Regions from separate parts of the Homo sapiens genome. Here regions 1 and 2 are each linked to region 3. The links are contacts of gene promoters, found by promoter capture Hi-C in blood cells and fetal thymus (Javierre and others, 2016). All regions are on one chromosome and are shown on one strand. The core of a region is centred on a gene start or on the middle of the fragment in contact, and the rest is flanking DNA. Distances in the headings are between cores, read along the strand shown. Region 1 overlaps TCTA (T cell leukemia translocation altered). Region 2 overlaps USP19 (ubiquitin specific peptidase 19). Region 3 holds the start of C3orf62 (chromosome 3 open reading frame 62).

The links. Contacts are between HindIII fragments. The CHiCAGO score rates a contact against its expected background, and 5 or more counts as called.
Region 1: a contact is called between a fragment that was not itself captured here and the fragment with the promoter of C3orf62 in region 3, in 1 of 17 cell types (M2 macrophages). The highest score is 5.2, in M2 macrophages.
Region 2: a fragment that was not itself captured here is called in contact with the fragment with the promoter of C3orf62 in region 3 in 1 of 17 cell types (M0 macrophages); the score reaches 5.2 in M0 macrophages.

Annotation. Positions count from the first base shown.
Region 1 is chr3:49,414,355-49,418,364 of GRCh38, reverse strand. It overlaps TCTA (T cell leukemia translocation altered), which reads right to left. Exons shown (of 3, transcript NM_022171.3): 3 at 1,889-3,545. The coding sequence ends at 3,503. AMT (aminomethyltransferase) reads left to right here. Exons shown (of 9, transcript NM_000481.4): 8 at 392-547; 9 at 647-1,587. The coding sequence ends at 825. Among named protein-coding and RNA genes, the nearest start is that of TCTA, 3.9 kb to the right of the region's middle. RefSeq lists enhancers at 1-707, 2,134-2,343. The HindIII fragment of the contact is 564 bases long and covers 1,106-1,669 here.
Region 2 is chr3:49,109,630-49,113,651 of GRCh38, reverse strand. It overlaps USP19 (ubiquitin specific peptidase 19), which reads left to right. Exons shown (of 27, transcript NM_001199161.2): 18 at 1,023-1,163; 19 at 1,250-1,368; 20 at 1,604-1,741; 21 at 1,839-2,152; 22 at 2,287-2,397; 23 at 2,486-2,702; 24 at 2,789-2,941; 25 at 3,048-3,208; 26 at 3,290-3,468. Among named protein-coding and RNA genes, the nearest start is that of QARS1, 6.9 kb to the right of the region's middle. The HindIII fragment of the contact is 801 bases long and covers 1,463-2,263 here.
Region 3 is chr3:49,274,918-49,279,292 of GRCh38, reverse strand. C3orf62 (chromosome 3 open reading frame 62) reads left to right here and starts at 2,061. Exons shown (of 3, transcript NM_198562.3): 1 at 2,061-2,866. The coding sequence starts at 2,421. USP4 (ubiquitin specific peptidase 4) reads left to right here. Exons shown (of 22, transcript NM_003363.4): 21 at 391-479; 22 at 842-2,149. The coding sequence ends at 1,000. RefSeq lists a silencer at 2,038-2,237 and an enhancer at 2,378-2,447. The HindIII fragment of the contact is 9,716 bases long and covers 1-4,375 here.

The DNA of each region.
Region 1 (4,010 bases), core at 138-2,637, 140 kb before region 3:
CTGAAAATATAAAAATTAGCCAGGCGTGGTGGCGGGTGCCTGTTATCCCAGCTACTCGGGAGACTGAGGCAGGTAAATTGCTTGAACCTGGGAGGCAGAGTTTGCAGTGAGCTGAGATCGTGCCACTGCATTCTAGGCCTGGGCGACAGAGTGACTCCATCTCAAAAAAAAAAAAAAGAAACTGAAGACGCTCGGCAGGTGGGCAGCATGGCCTCCAGGGGATAGGAGGTGGTTGGTTGGCTGACGGCAGTGAAGGGAGGAATAGAGCCTGGAGTAGCCCAAGCAAAGGGGCCTTGATGCTAGATAGTGTGTTACTTGAGGACCTCATAAGGACCTCCTGTGGCCAGGGCTTCTATGGGCTGTGGCTTATGTCTCATGTGTCATTCTCCAGGGAAGCGCCGCCGAGCTGCTATGGACTTCCCTGGAGCCAAGGTCATTGTTCCCCAGCTGAAGGGCAGGGTGCAGCGGAGGCGTGTGGGGTTGATGTGTGAGGGGGCCCCCATGCGGGCACACAGTCCCATCCTGAACATGGAGGGTACCAAGATTGGTAGGTGGACCAGGGAAGCTGGGAAACCCTTGTCTCTTCCCAGGAGGGTGGGGGCACTGGCAGGGTGGTGCTGATGCGTGGCTTATGCTTGCTTGACAGGTACTGTGACTAGTGGCTGCCCCTCCCCCTCTCTGAAGAAGAATGTGGCGATGGGTTATGTGCCCTGCGAGTACAGTCGTCCAGGGACAATGCTGCTGGTAGAGGTGCGGCGGAAGCAGCAGATGGCTGTAGTCAGCAAGATGCCCTTTGTGCCCACAAACTACTATACCCTCAAGTGAAGCTGGCTCAGGGTGGGGCTGTCCCTTCCAGGAGTTTTGCCCCTACAAGGGGTTAGTCAAGAAGCTGAGGCAGAACTCACTGGGGGTGGGCAGTTAAGGTGGAGGCTGATTCTAATTGTCTGGTTGAGGGGCCACACCACCTATTCCCCCCACCTAACTCATGCCATTCCAGCTTCCTTCAGGACCCTGCTTCTGAGTGACGGACCAGCTCACACAATGTCTTGTTTCAGTCCATGATCCCACTGACCTACTCTTGCCTGCTGGAGGGTAATGAGAAGCTTTGGTTCTGCCATCTCTCCCACTCTGCCAGGTGCTGGCTGTGGAGCAAAGGCTCACCTTTGTGGAGAGGATAAAACCTGCCCAACCTACCTCACCATGGTTTTTCACATTGCAAAGGGTAATAACATGGGCAGTGCGGACTTAGGCTACCCCCTCCAGTTTGCTTTCCGTAAATGCAAATTGTCCTTACTGCAAGTCAGGAATGATTGCTGACTCACAGTAGGGCTGCTATGCCTGTGTGTAAACTTGGGGATGGCTGAGGGAACATAGACTCACTCTTCCACATTCCCAAGTTGGTCTAGTGTGCTGCCCAGTAGCAAACCATGGCAGACTCACCACCTATTCTGAGTTCCAGGGCTGCTGTAGGGCAGGGTGGGCTTCCTCCCAGACTTGCCTTACCCTGGGCTGATCTTTGCCCCTGGTATGCATTAATGGACTCCACTGAATCCTGAAAAAAAAATTAAACTTCCTTCTTACTTGCCAGTCTCTAGCTTCATTGTTCTCTGTTCACAGGGTTCCTGAAATGCCAACCCAATGCCTGCCTTCCTGGCCTCCAAGACAAGCTTGGAATAGGTTCTCCTTGAAAGGGGCCAGTCTATAAAAATGGAGATATTGCCCCTGTTGGGCACCCCATCCCTGCTCCTCCAGGGAGCTGCATCACCTCTCCCCTCCCTGCAAGTTATTGCATCTGGGTCCCAAGGGGCAACAGCTTCCAGGATGTTCCCTCTCTCACTGCCCCTGTGCATGCACACCCTTGTTCTGTCTGAATAACCACAACAACCGATGCACTTCCGTGTTTAATAAGCCACATCCTCAGTTGAGCCTGGGGTGAAATGTGAGATCCTGACTCTGTGCAGTAGTATTAGTGGGTGGGCCAGGGGCTGTGAATAACATCATCCTCAGTACAGCTGCAATTCCAGGGCCCCTCTACCACAAAGATGGCTTAAGCAAAGGCAGCCAGATGGAAGTATGATATCCAACAGGAAGGAAGTAGGCAGGGGTCACTAAAGTGGCTGGTGGCCCAGCAGATGGAAACAGAAGTATGGCCCCGAGGGAAGGAGGCAGGTCCAGGGCTACAGTGCTTTCAGGTACTGGTGTTTCTATAGGGGCATTTGCCACCCACATCTTTGGAAACTCCCCTGGCCTATTGTGACATGGCAGGGCTGCCTGGTTCTTGAAGGTAGAGAAAATGCTAGTGGGGAGGAGCTGAGCCTGTGACGTGCATTTGTACCAGGTCCAGATGGGAAATGATGAGGCTGCAGGCTATGATGGGGCCACTGTGCACTAAATGCTTGGTACCATCCTATGAGGGGACAAGGTGCAGACCCACATTCCCATAGGCACTTAAGCAGTGGTGGATAGGAGGCTACCCCAGGGGTTCAGCTGTCCTTCAGGTAATCAGCTTACCCCCAAGAAGGACTGAGAGGAATATGAGTAGGACAGTTGGCAGATGACAATTTCCTTTGCCTGGCTCACGGGAGAAGTCTGGTTGGGCCAGGTATGTGGGTGTTTGGTGCCTCCATCTGGATAGTGCCAGCAGGTACACCACCCTGCCTTATACCTGAATGGCCAGCTAAATAACCATAGAGCTTAAGGTCTGGCTCAGGTCAGGATTCCCTGGCTCCTTGCCAACAAAGCAAAACCAGAGATTCAGAAAACTCAGGGCCTAGGAGAAAACAGACCTGCCTTACAAACCCCAGAGCTGGTCAACCTCAGGCTTCCTCTCAGGAAAAAAATTTTTTTTTTGAGATGGGTCTTGCTCTGTTGCCCAGGCTGGAGTACAACGGCGCAATCTTGGCTCACTGCAACCTCTGCCTCCCAGGTTCAAGCAAATCTCCTGCTTCAGCCTCCTGAGTAGCTGGGATTACTGGTGTGTGCCACCACACCCGGCTAATTTTTGTATTTTTAGTAGAGATGGGGTTTTCACCATGTTGGTCAGGCTGGTCTCGAACTCCTGACCTCGTGATCTGCCTGCCTCAGCCTCCCAAAGTGTTGGGATTACAGGCGTGAGCCACCATGCCTGGCCAACTCAGGAAAAATTTTTATGGGGTCACATCTTGGGGATGGAAGAGGGACAGGAAAAGAAACCTAAGACAAAAGAACTGATGGTCTTCCCAACCCAGAGGCTTCCTGAGTTATCACCCCTGAGAGAGGAAGAACACAATCTCTCTCCTTAAGGCACCCAGATAAGAGTACAGGCAAACTCTTCACTTGCCCAGTGCCTGGGTGAGGGAGCAGGCTTAAGAGGCAGAAGAGGCCCAGCCCTGTAGGCACTGGGTACTCCCTGCTACCAACCCTGAACCCCCGGCAGTTGTCCCTGAGGTCTGGGGAGTAGCAGAACCCAGTGTAGAAGCCAGCAGACCCAGTGATGCCCTTGGAGACCCTCTGCTGCCTTCCCTTATTCTCTGTGGGTTTTGAGAGGTTCGTTTGCTGCCATTTCCCTGAAAGTGATGGAGAGAGAGAAGAGAGAGTGGTTATTCCATGGGCAGAACAGTTGCTGAAATTGGCTCTCCCAAGCTCCTTCTTGGGGGCTGAGCTAGGCTCAGTAAGGTCACATAACAATCTAGACCTCTCTGCTGGTCTCCCACAGCCCACCCTGGGCCCAGCACCTTCTCCCTGCAGACTCATTCTTCTTCCTGGTTCTCCATGTTAGTACGGCATTGCCATCCTTCTCTAGTTTTTTTATTCTTTTTATTTATTACTATTGTTATTACTTTTCTTTTTTTGAGACGGAGTTTCACTCTTGTTGCCCAGGTTGGGGTGCAATGGCAAGATCTCAGCTCACTGCAGCCTCCACCTCCCGGGTTCAAGCAATTTTCCTGCCTCAGCCTCCCAAGTAGCTGGGATTACAGGCGCCCGCCACCACACCCAGCTAGTTTTTGTATTTTTAGTGAAGACGGGGTTTC
Region 2 (4,022 bases), core at 614-3,113, 170 kb after region 3:
CACTCCAGCCTGGGTGACAGAGTGAGACTCTGTCTCAAAAATAAATAAATAAATAGATAAAAAAATAAAAATAGGGCCAGGCGTGGTGGCTCATGCCTGTAATCCCAGCTCTTTGGGAGGCCAAGGCTGATGGATCACAAGGTCAGGAGATCCAGACCACCCTGGCTTACATGGTGAAACCCCACCTCTACTAAAAATACAGGAAAAGTTAGCCGGGCGTGGTGGCACATGTCTGTAGTCCCAGCTGCTCAGGAGGCTGAGGCAGGAGAATCGCTTGAACCTGGGAGGCAGAGGTTGCAGTGAGCCGAGATCGCGCCACTGCACTCCAGCCTGGGTGACAGAGTGAGACTCTGTCTCAAAAATAAAATAAAATAAAATAAAAATAGACATACACATGAGTATGCCTGTGACTGTACAAAAACAGGCGATGTGCTGTTATTTTTTCTGTGCAACAGAAGTGCCCTCAGTTCCTAGCCATTATCAGGGTTTATTCCCCTTTGTGGTGGTGGATCCCAACTGCATTTCCCTTTTTAGACAAGGAGCTTGAGCTGCAGGACTATCCCTATGTTCGCTCTGCCTCTCCCTCTATCCTGCTGCTCTCTCCTTTTATCCCAGTTGTGTGTGCTAGCTCTCCCCAGGGGTTCCTAGCCTTTAGCCTGACAGTGTTGGTTTTCTTAGGGGTAAGAGTGGGGAGGAGGCTCTTTGAATGTGGACCCTCCATGATAATATGTTACAGTCTTATAAGGCTATGCTAGTTATAGCAGGGCAGAGTCCCTCAGTGTGGAGAGCTGGTGTGGTTGATATCTGCCTCACACCTGGTCTTTCAGGCCCTCTGATGCACCAGGCTCCTTATGGCATTGGGCACTGAGACAGGTGCCAGCAGAGGCATAAGCCTATTTGGGCCTACAGACCTCACCACTGCCCACATAGACCCAAGGCAGGGCCAAGCCTTCTTAAACTCTGGGGCAGGGCTAGGGAAAGGGCTTATCCTCACGTGGGATCTGTGTGTTCTCTGTCCCCAGGTAATTAAGAATCGTTTTCATCGTGTGTTCCTACCCTCCCACTCACTGGACACTGTGTCCCCATCTGATACGCTCCTCTGCTTTGAGCTGCTATCCTCAGAGTTGGCTAAGGAGCGGGTAGTGGTGCTAGAGGTGCAACAGGTGAGTGGGGGCCAACCTGATGGCACAGCGCCCTGGTGGGTGGGGCACTTCTTCCTGGTCTTGCTGAGCCAGACGACCCACCCTAGCGCCCCCAGGTGCCCAGCGTCCCCATCTCCAAGTGTGCAGCCTGCCAGCGGAAGCAACAGTCGGAGGATGAAAAGCTGAAGCGCTGTACCCGGTGCTACCGTGTGGGCTACTGCAACCAGTGAGGACCCCCATGGTCTCCCCTACCCTTTCTTTCCACCTTCCATGTGCCACCCTGCTCCTTCCCTTCACACCAAGGCACATATGCTTAAGCTTTCTACTTGCCACCCTACTTTACCAGGCTCTGGGGGAGGCAGGGCTGGCGTACCCAGTTCCCAGGGACTATGACTAGCCCCCAGTATGGAGTCATAGGAGATGGGGCTAAGGGCCTATCCTTGTCTTCCTCTTCCCGTCAGGCTCTGCCAGAAAACCCACTGGCCTGACCACAAGGGCCTCTGCCGACCTGAGAACATTGGCTACCCCTTCCTGGTCAGTGTACCTGCCTCACGCCTCACTTATGCCCGCCTCGCTCAGTTGCTAGAGGGCTATGCCCGGTAAGTGCCCAGTGGTTGGACTAGAGTGGTGTAGGTGGGGGCAGAGGTGCTAGATGGGCTGGTCAGGAGTCTTACTTGCGTTGTTCTCTGTTGCCAGGTACTCTGTGAGTGTATTCCAGCCACCCTTTCAGCCAGGCCGCATGGCCTTGGAGTCTCAGAGCCCTGGCTGCACCACACTGCTCTCCACAGGTTCCCTGGAGGCTGGGGACAGCGAGAGAGACCCCATTCAGCCACCTGAGCTCCAGCTGGTGACCCCTATGGCTGAGGGGGACACAGGGCTTCCCCGGGTGTGGGCAGCCCCTGACCGGGGTCCTGTGCCCAGCACCAGTGGAATTTCTTCTGAGATGCTGGCCAGTGGGCCCATTGAGGTTGGCTCCTTGCCAGCTGGCGAGAGGGTGTCCCGACCCGAAGGTAAGATCCAGTGAAAGGCTCTAGAAGCTGGGGAGGAGGATAAGGGAGGATGGAGGGGGCTGTTGTTTAGGGCCTGGTGGGCCTGGTGAGGCCCTGATGGGCAGGGAAGCTTTGATTATCATGTTCTCACACAGCTGCTGTGCCTGGGTACCAGCATCCAAGTGAAGCTATGAATGCCCACACACCCCAGTTCTTCATCTATAAAATTGATTCATCCAACCGAGAGCAGCGGCTAGAGGACAAAGGTGTCTGAGGCTGTGGGTGGGAGCCATGGGGTGGGTTGAGCTGGCTGTTCTCCACAGCTGCATGACCTCTCTCCCTGCGAATCTCCAGGAGACACCCCACTGGAGCTGGGTGACGACTGTAGCCTGGCTCTCGTCTGGCGGAACAATGAGCGCTTGCAGGAGTTTGTGTTGGTAGCCTCCAAGGAGCTGGAATGTGCTGAGGATCCAGGCTCTGCCGGTGAGGCTGCCCGGGCCGGCCACTTCACCCTGGACCAGTGCCTCAACCTCTTCACACGGCCTGAGGTGCTGGCACCCGAGGAGGCCTGGTGAGAACAGAGCAGCAAGTAGATAAGGGGGCAGGATGGAGAAGAGAGAGACTTGCTGGTCCTGACCCAATCTCTGTCCCCACCAGGTACTGCCCACAGTGCAAACAGCACCGTGAGGCCTCCAAGCAGCTGTTGCTATGGCGCCTGCCAAATGTTCTCATCGTGCAGCTCAAGCGCTTCTCCTTTCGTAGTTTTATCTGGCGTGACAAGATCAATGACTTGGTGGAGTTCCCTGTTAGGTAAGCAGTGGACCTTGGTAACTGTGGGTGGGGTGTGAGGACCAGGATGGGCATCCTGAGCGCCTGTTGCCTGTCTCACCCCTCCCTGACTGGACCTGACCTGCAGGAACCTGGACCTGAGCAAGTTCTGCATTGGTCAGAAAGAGGAGCAGCTGCCCAGCTACGATCTATATGCTGTCATCAACCACTATGGAGGCATGATTGGTGGCCACTACACTGCCTGTGCACGCCTGCCCAATGATCGTAGCAGTCAGCGCAGTGACGTGGGTGAGGGCACACACAGCCAGCAGGATAGGTGGTAGGGGTGGTGGTGCAGACTTTGTTCACACTCTTCCCACCCTGCTGTAGGCTGGCGCTTGTTTGATGACAGCACAGTGACAACGGTAGACGAGAGCCAGGTTGTGACGCGTTATGCCTATGTACTCTTCTACCGCCGGCGGAACTCTCCTGTGGAGAGGCCCCCCAGGGCAGGTCACTCTGAGCACCACCCAGACCTAGGCCCTGCAGCTGAGGCTGCTGCCAGCCAGGTGAGGCATGTGGGAGGCTTTACAGAATACTGGGGGACAGTTCACAGACTGGGGCCGGGTTGGGGGATATAGCTTCCTCTCCTCCAGCCACAGGCCCATTGAGCCTTGGGATTCATGAGAATTGCAGAGTTCTCTTAACATCAAAGCTTTAGCCAGAGGCATCCCCATGCCTTGGGGACACTAACAAACATACAAGTACACTAACATGCTGCCACTGGCAAGCACATTGGCACCTACTTGGCACAGGTCAGGCAACTGCTCTGAACCTCACTGGGCACTATGCTGTGAATGAACTATACCTGACACTCTCCTAGATTTCCTCTGCACATTCCCCACATGCTGGCCCACACACCCTCACTTGTGATGTCCCTGAGTTCTAGTGTGCACTCAAGACAAGGCCTATTTGGGCTGGCCATGGCCTCTGGTGGCTGTTATACTCTTTGAGGTAAGCATCTGTCTTTGCTGAGCCTTCAGGATCTTCTCTTTAGTGACATGGTGTGCCATAGGCCCAGTTAGTGGGCGTAGGCACATCTCTTTTCTGGACTGGCCGTCTC
Region 3 (4,375 bases), core at 812-3,311:
GACTTGGCATGTCCTTGTGAGAGCTATTGTTTTGCTTAAATCTTAGAAGTTTCAGCTCCTTTTATGGGTTCCCTGGTTTTGGATTATTGCACATAGCCATCCTGAAGATTGGCACTGAATAGCTCTGTTTTTTCTATTAGTTTCCCAAAATTATAGTTTAAAATCTTGGTCCCTGACAGCTCCATTTTTAGCCTTTTGATCCTTTTTGAGAAGGAACAGATTAGAAAAGAAGGTGAGTTGTTTTTTGGTTGTTAAGACACACACTGTAAACTTTTTTAATTTCAGGGGTTTTGTTTTGGGGATTTTTGTGTTTATTTAGTGCAAGCCTAATAAGCTAGCCAGATTAATTCTCTGGAGACCGCTAGAGTATTTTCTTTGTTGACTTGGCAGACACTGCATATGCGAAGAACAAACTGAATGGTAAATGGTATTACTTTGATGATAGCAACGTGTCCCTGGCCTCTGAGGATCAGATAGTGGTGAGTAGGCCATGATATGTGGTTCTTCCTCATGTCGTTATGGATTAAAGCTGGGAAGAGCCTCTATCAGGCTAGTTGGTTATTTCATCATCCTGATGTGATAGTGGGAGCTAGGTGTGACAGAGCTGGCTGGCATTCCTTCAGGGACCTTCATAAATGAGAAGCTCAGCTCTCCTCAGAGTTCTCTGCACAAGGCTCCTTCCATTTCCTGCTGCCTGGCAGGGGCAGCCATCCTCAGGTGGAAGGGTCTCCTCTGTGTGGATATGGCAGATCCTTGAGGGTTTTGGACAGCTAGAGAAAAGCTGGGGAAAATGGGTGATTTTTCCAAGCACTGAATGGTCTTTCCCCCTCTTGTATTTCAGACTAAAGCAGCTTATGTGCTATTTTACCAACGTCGAGATGATGAATTTTATAAGACACCTTCACTTAGCAGTTCTGGTTCCTCTGATGGAGGGACACGACCAAGCAGCTCTCAGCAGGGCTTTGGGGATGATGAGGCTTGCAGCATGGACACCAACTAATGCTGACTCCACGATCCTGCCACCCTGTAGCGCCAGTGTAATCCCCCAGGAGAACATCTTTGACACTCTGCAGACTGCTAGTGTTCTGTCTAAAAACCAGACAAGGAAATACCCTTCTTTTATGAGCAGAAGGAAACAAAAAAAAAAAAAGAAGACCGTTTACCTAGAAGAAGCTATGTCAAGAGGCTGAATTATTTTTATTTTTAAACAGGTGGTGAGAAATTTCTGTGAAACCTGTGAAGCTGAAAAGGGGGTGGGATGGGGGTACTCAATGGAGTATGTCTGATGGATCCCGAAGAATGGAGAGGAACACAGGCGCTGAGTATGGAGCAGCCTGGAGACCCACCCCACCTGCAGGGCTGCCCTGAGCGCCTGGATTTCTGGTTCTGATGCCAATACTAGTCACCCCAAGTAGTCTGCTCACAGTAACCCAAACCTCAAGTAAACTCCCCTTTCCCTCGCTATGTGCACTGATATGGGTTTATAATTTTCTGAAAGTTACCCACTGAAGCCCATTTCTCCGTTGAGTCATCTTGTAATTTCCAGCTTTCTCCCCGCTAAGGAAGATATCTAGTGTTGGGGATCCTGGCCCCTCAACCTCCTGTGGAACCCAGCAGTTCTGTTATATCCCCTGCTACCCTAGATGAATTAAGACGGTTAAATACTGTGTGGAACTTTTATTAGATAACACACTTTTTATTAGATAACGCTTAAAGGAAGTCAGTACATAAAACTGCCCGGTGCTGTGTCCCGTCTAGTTGTTTCCATGTTGGCTTGAGAACAGAAATCTTTGTGGGAGTTAGCCGGGAAAGGGCTCCAGTTCATGGCGATTTAGGGTAGTAATACATTTTGGTGTTACCCAGATGCTTTCTAGAACGGGTTCTTTCCTCATCCCTGCCAAGACTCTTCCCGGGGCCCCCATTCGAAAGCCCCGTCCCCACTCCCACCGCGGGGCCAGCCGCTGCGTGTGGGCAAGGCCTTAAGGAACCGGACGTATGGGTCCGGGATTTTTTGTCTGACCTTCAACCTAATCCGTGGGGGTTTGGGGCCTGCGCGGGGCACGCGCATGCGATGACCGTTGGATGGGTCGGCGTCACTGCGCTGCGGGTGAGGACAAGGACGTGGCTGCCGACTCGCCAAAGGGGGGGTGCCGGTAGGGCCAGCGGCCTGGGAGCCGCGGTGGGGCGGGAGGCAGCGGCGGGGCGGGCCAGGAAGCTGTGGGAAGTGGGGCGGGGCGTCTTTGGGGCTTCTGGCAGATGGCGGGTTCCTCCGCGAGAGCCGAGAACCGCCTACTCCAGGAGGAAAGCCCGAGGGTTGTGGGTCCTGCTATAGCCAGGGCCAAGCTCCAGGAAATCGTGGCCATTCAGGGGTAGTTTGCAGCCTCATTTGTAACATTATTGTGTTGTCCTGTGCATTTCCAATGCATTACATAAAGACATGGTCGCTTTTAGGAGAAATGTCTGAAAAACTAAGAAGATGCAGAAAGGAACTGACTGCAGCCATTGACCGGGCCTTTGAAGGAGTTAGTTATTCCCAGGAGTGCACAGGCCAGCAGAGGCTGGAACTGAGCGCCGCGCCGCTCTCCTTCTCGCTGCCCGTGCACAGGCTCCTCTGCAGAAGACATCCTCTGGCAGCCTGCTCTTCTGCTGCTCCTTTTGCTGCTGTCCCATGTGCTCCTGAGAATGAGAACCCTGCCTTTGCAACAAACCATGCCCCGGTAAATGCAAAACCACATGCTCTGTGCCCCGAGAGAAAACCTCTAACCAGCAAGGAAAATGTATTGATGCATTCCTCCATTTTGGCACCTGAAAGAGAGTCTTGGAGAACTGCAGGAGAGGGGGAAAACTGGAGAAAAGAAAATTTAAGGTGATTCTAATTTTGATGGTTTAACAGCTACAATTAAGGGGATTCTTGTTTCTGAAAAAGTTGTTGAAGATCCTAGATTTAGTTCATGACAGTGCTCTTGCCTCCTCTTGGCAGCTCTGTGACTGCATTTGGGGAGTTGACAGACATTCTTCAGAATCTGGCCTAGGAAACAGTTATATTTTGTGTATATGTTCCAGTTGAGGGGCTAGTTGTCAATCGTTGATGTCAAAAACCAGTCATGGAAACCACTTTGCAGTACCCAAAGGGGTAGTGGATGTAAAATAACCGGGTTTTAAAAATAACCTTATTTTTTAAGTTGCAGAAACAAAAGTCTTAATTCCATCTTAACTCCTGTGTTTGAATCTGGACACTGGGGCCTTTGATACCCTCCTTTGCCCACATTAGGGAGAGGCTTAATTGAAGGCTGGGCCCTACTTCCTGGCTTCATCTTTGCCTCTGCTCCCCGCTCTTACCCCAGATCTTTTTGGACCATCACCAGGTCTCTTCTAGACTTTTTCTTCTCCCGAGTAACTTGAAATTGCCTGGTCCCAGGCACCTTGACTTGGAGAAGGGATGAATGTATGAGATGAAACTTCAGGCCGGGCGCGGTGGCTCACACTTGTAATCCCAGCACTTTGGGAGGCCGAGGCGGGCAGATCACGAGGTCAGGAGATCGAGACCATCCTGGCTAACACGGTGAAACTCTGTCTCTACTAAAAATACAAAAAATTAGCCGGGCGTGGTGGCGGGCGCCTGTAGTCCCAGCTACTCGGGAGGCTGAGGCAGGAGAATGGCATGAACCCGGGAGGCGGAGCTTGCAGTGAGCCGAGATCACGCCACTGCACTCCAGCCTGGGCGACAGAGCGAGACTCCGTATCAAAAAAAAAAAAAAAAAAAAAAAAAAAAACTTCAAAGTTCTGCCATCTTGGCTGCTTCATAGGAAGGGGATAAAGAGGCCATTTAATTGGTTCAACTCCACAAGAATTTTTTTCCTTTCAACTCCACAAATATTTATATTGGTACTCATAAGCAGTGCAGGCCTTGCCGGGTGTGGTGGCACGCCTGTAATCTCAGCACTTTGGGAGGCTGAGGTGGGTGGATCGCTTGAGGTCTGGTGAAACCCCGTCTCCACTAAAAATACAAACATAAGCCGAGCGTGGTGGCGCGCGCCTATGATCCCAGCTACTTGGGAGGCCGAGGCAGGAGAATTGCTTGAATCCTGGAGGCAGAGGTTGCAGTGAGCTGAGATCTTGCCATGGCACTCCAGCCTGGGCAACAGAGCAAGACTCCATCTTAAAAAAAAAAAAATGCTGGGCACAGTGGCTCACGCCTGAATCCCAGCACTTTGAGAGGCTGAGGCGGATGAATCACCTGAGGTCAGGAGTTTGAGACCAGCCTGGCCAACATGGTGAAACCCCGTCTCTACTAAAAATAGAAAAATTAGCTGGGTGCCGTTGCGGCCGCCTGTAATCCCAGCTGCTCCAGAGGCTGAGACAGGAGAATCGCTTG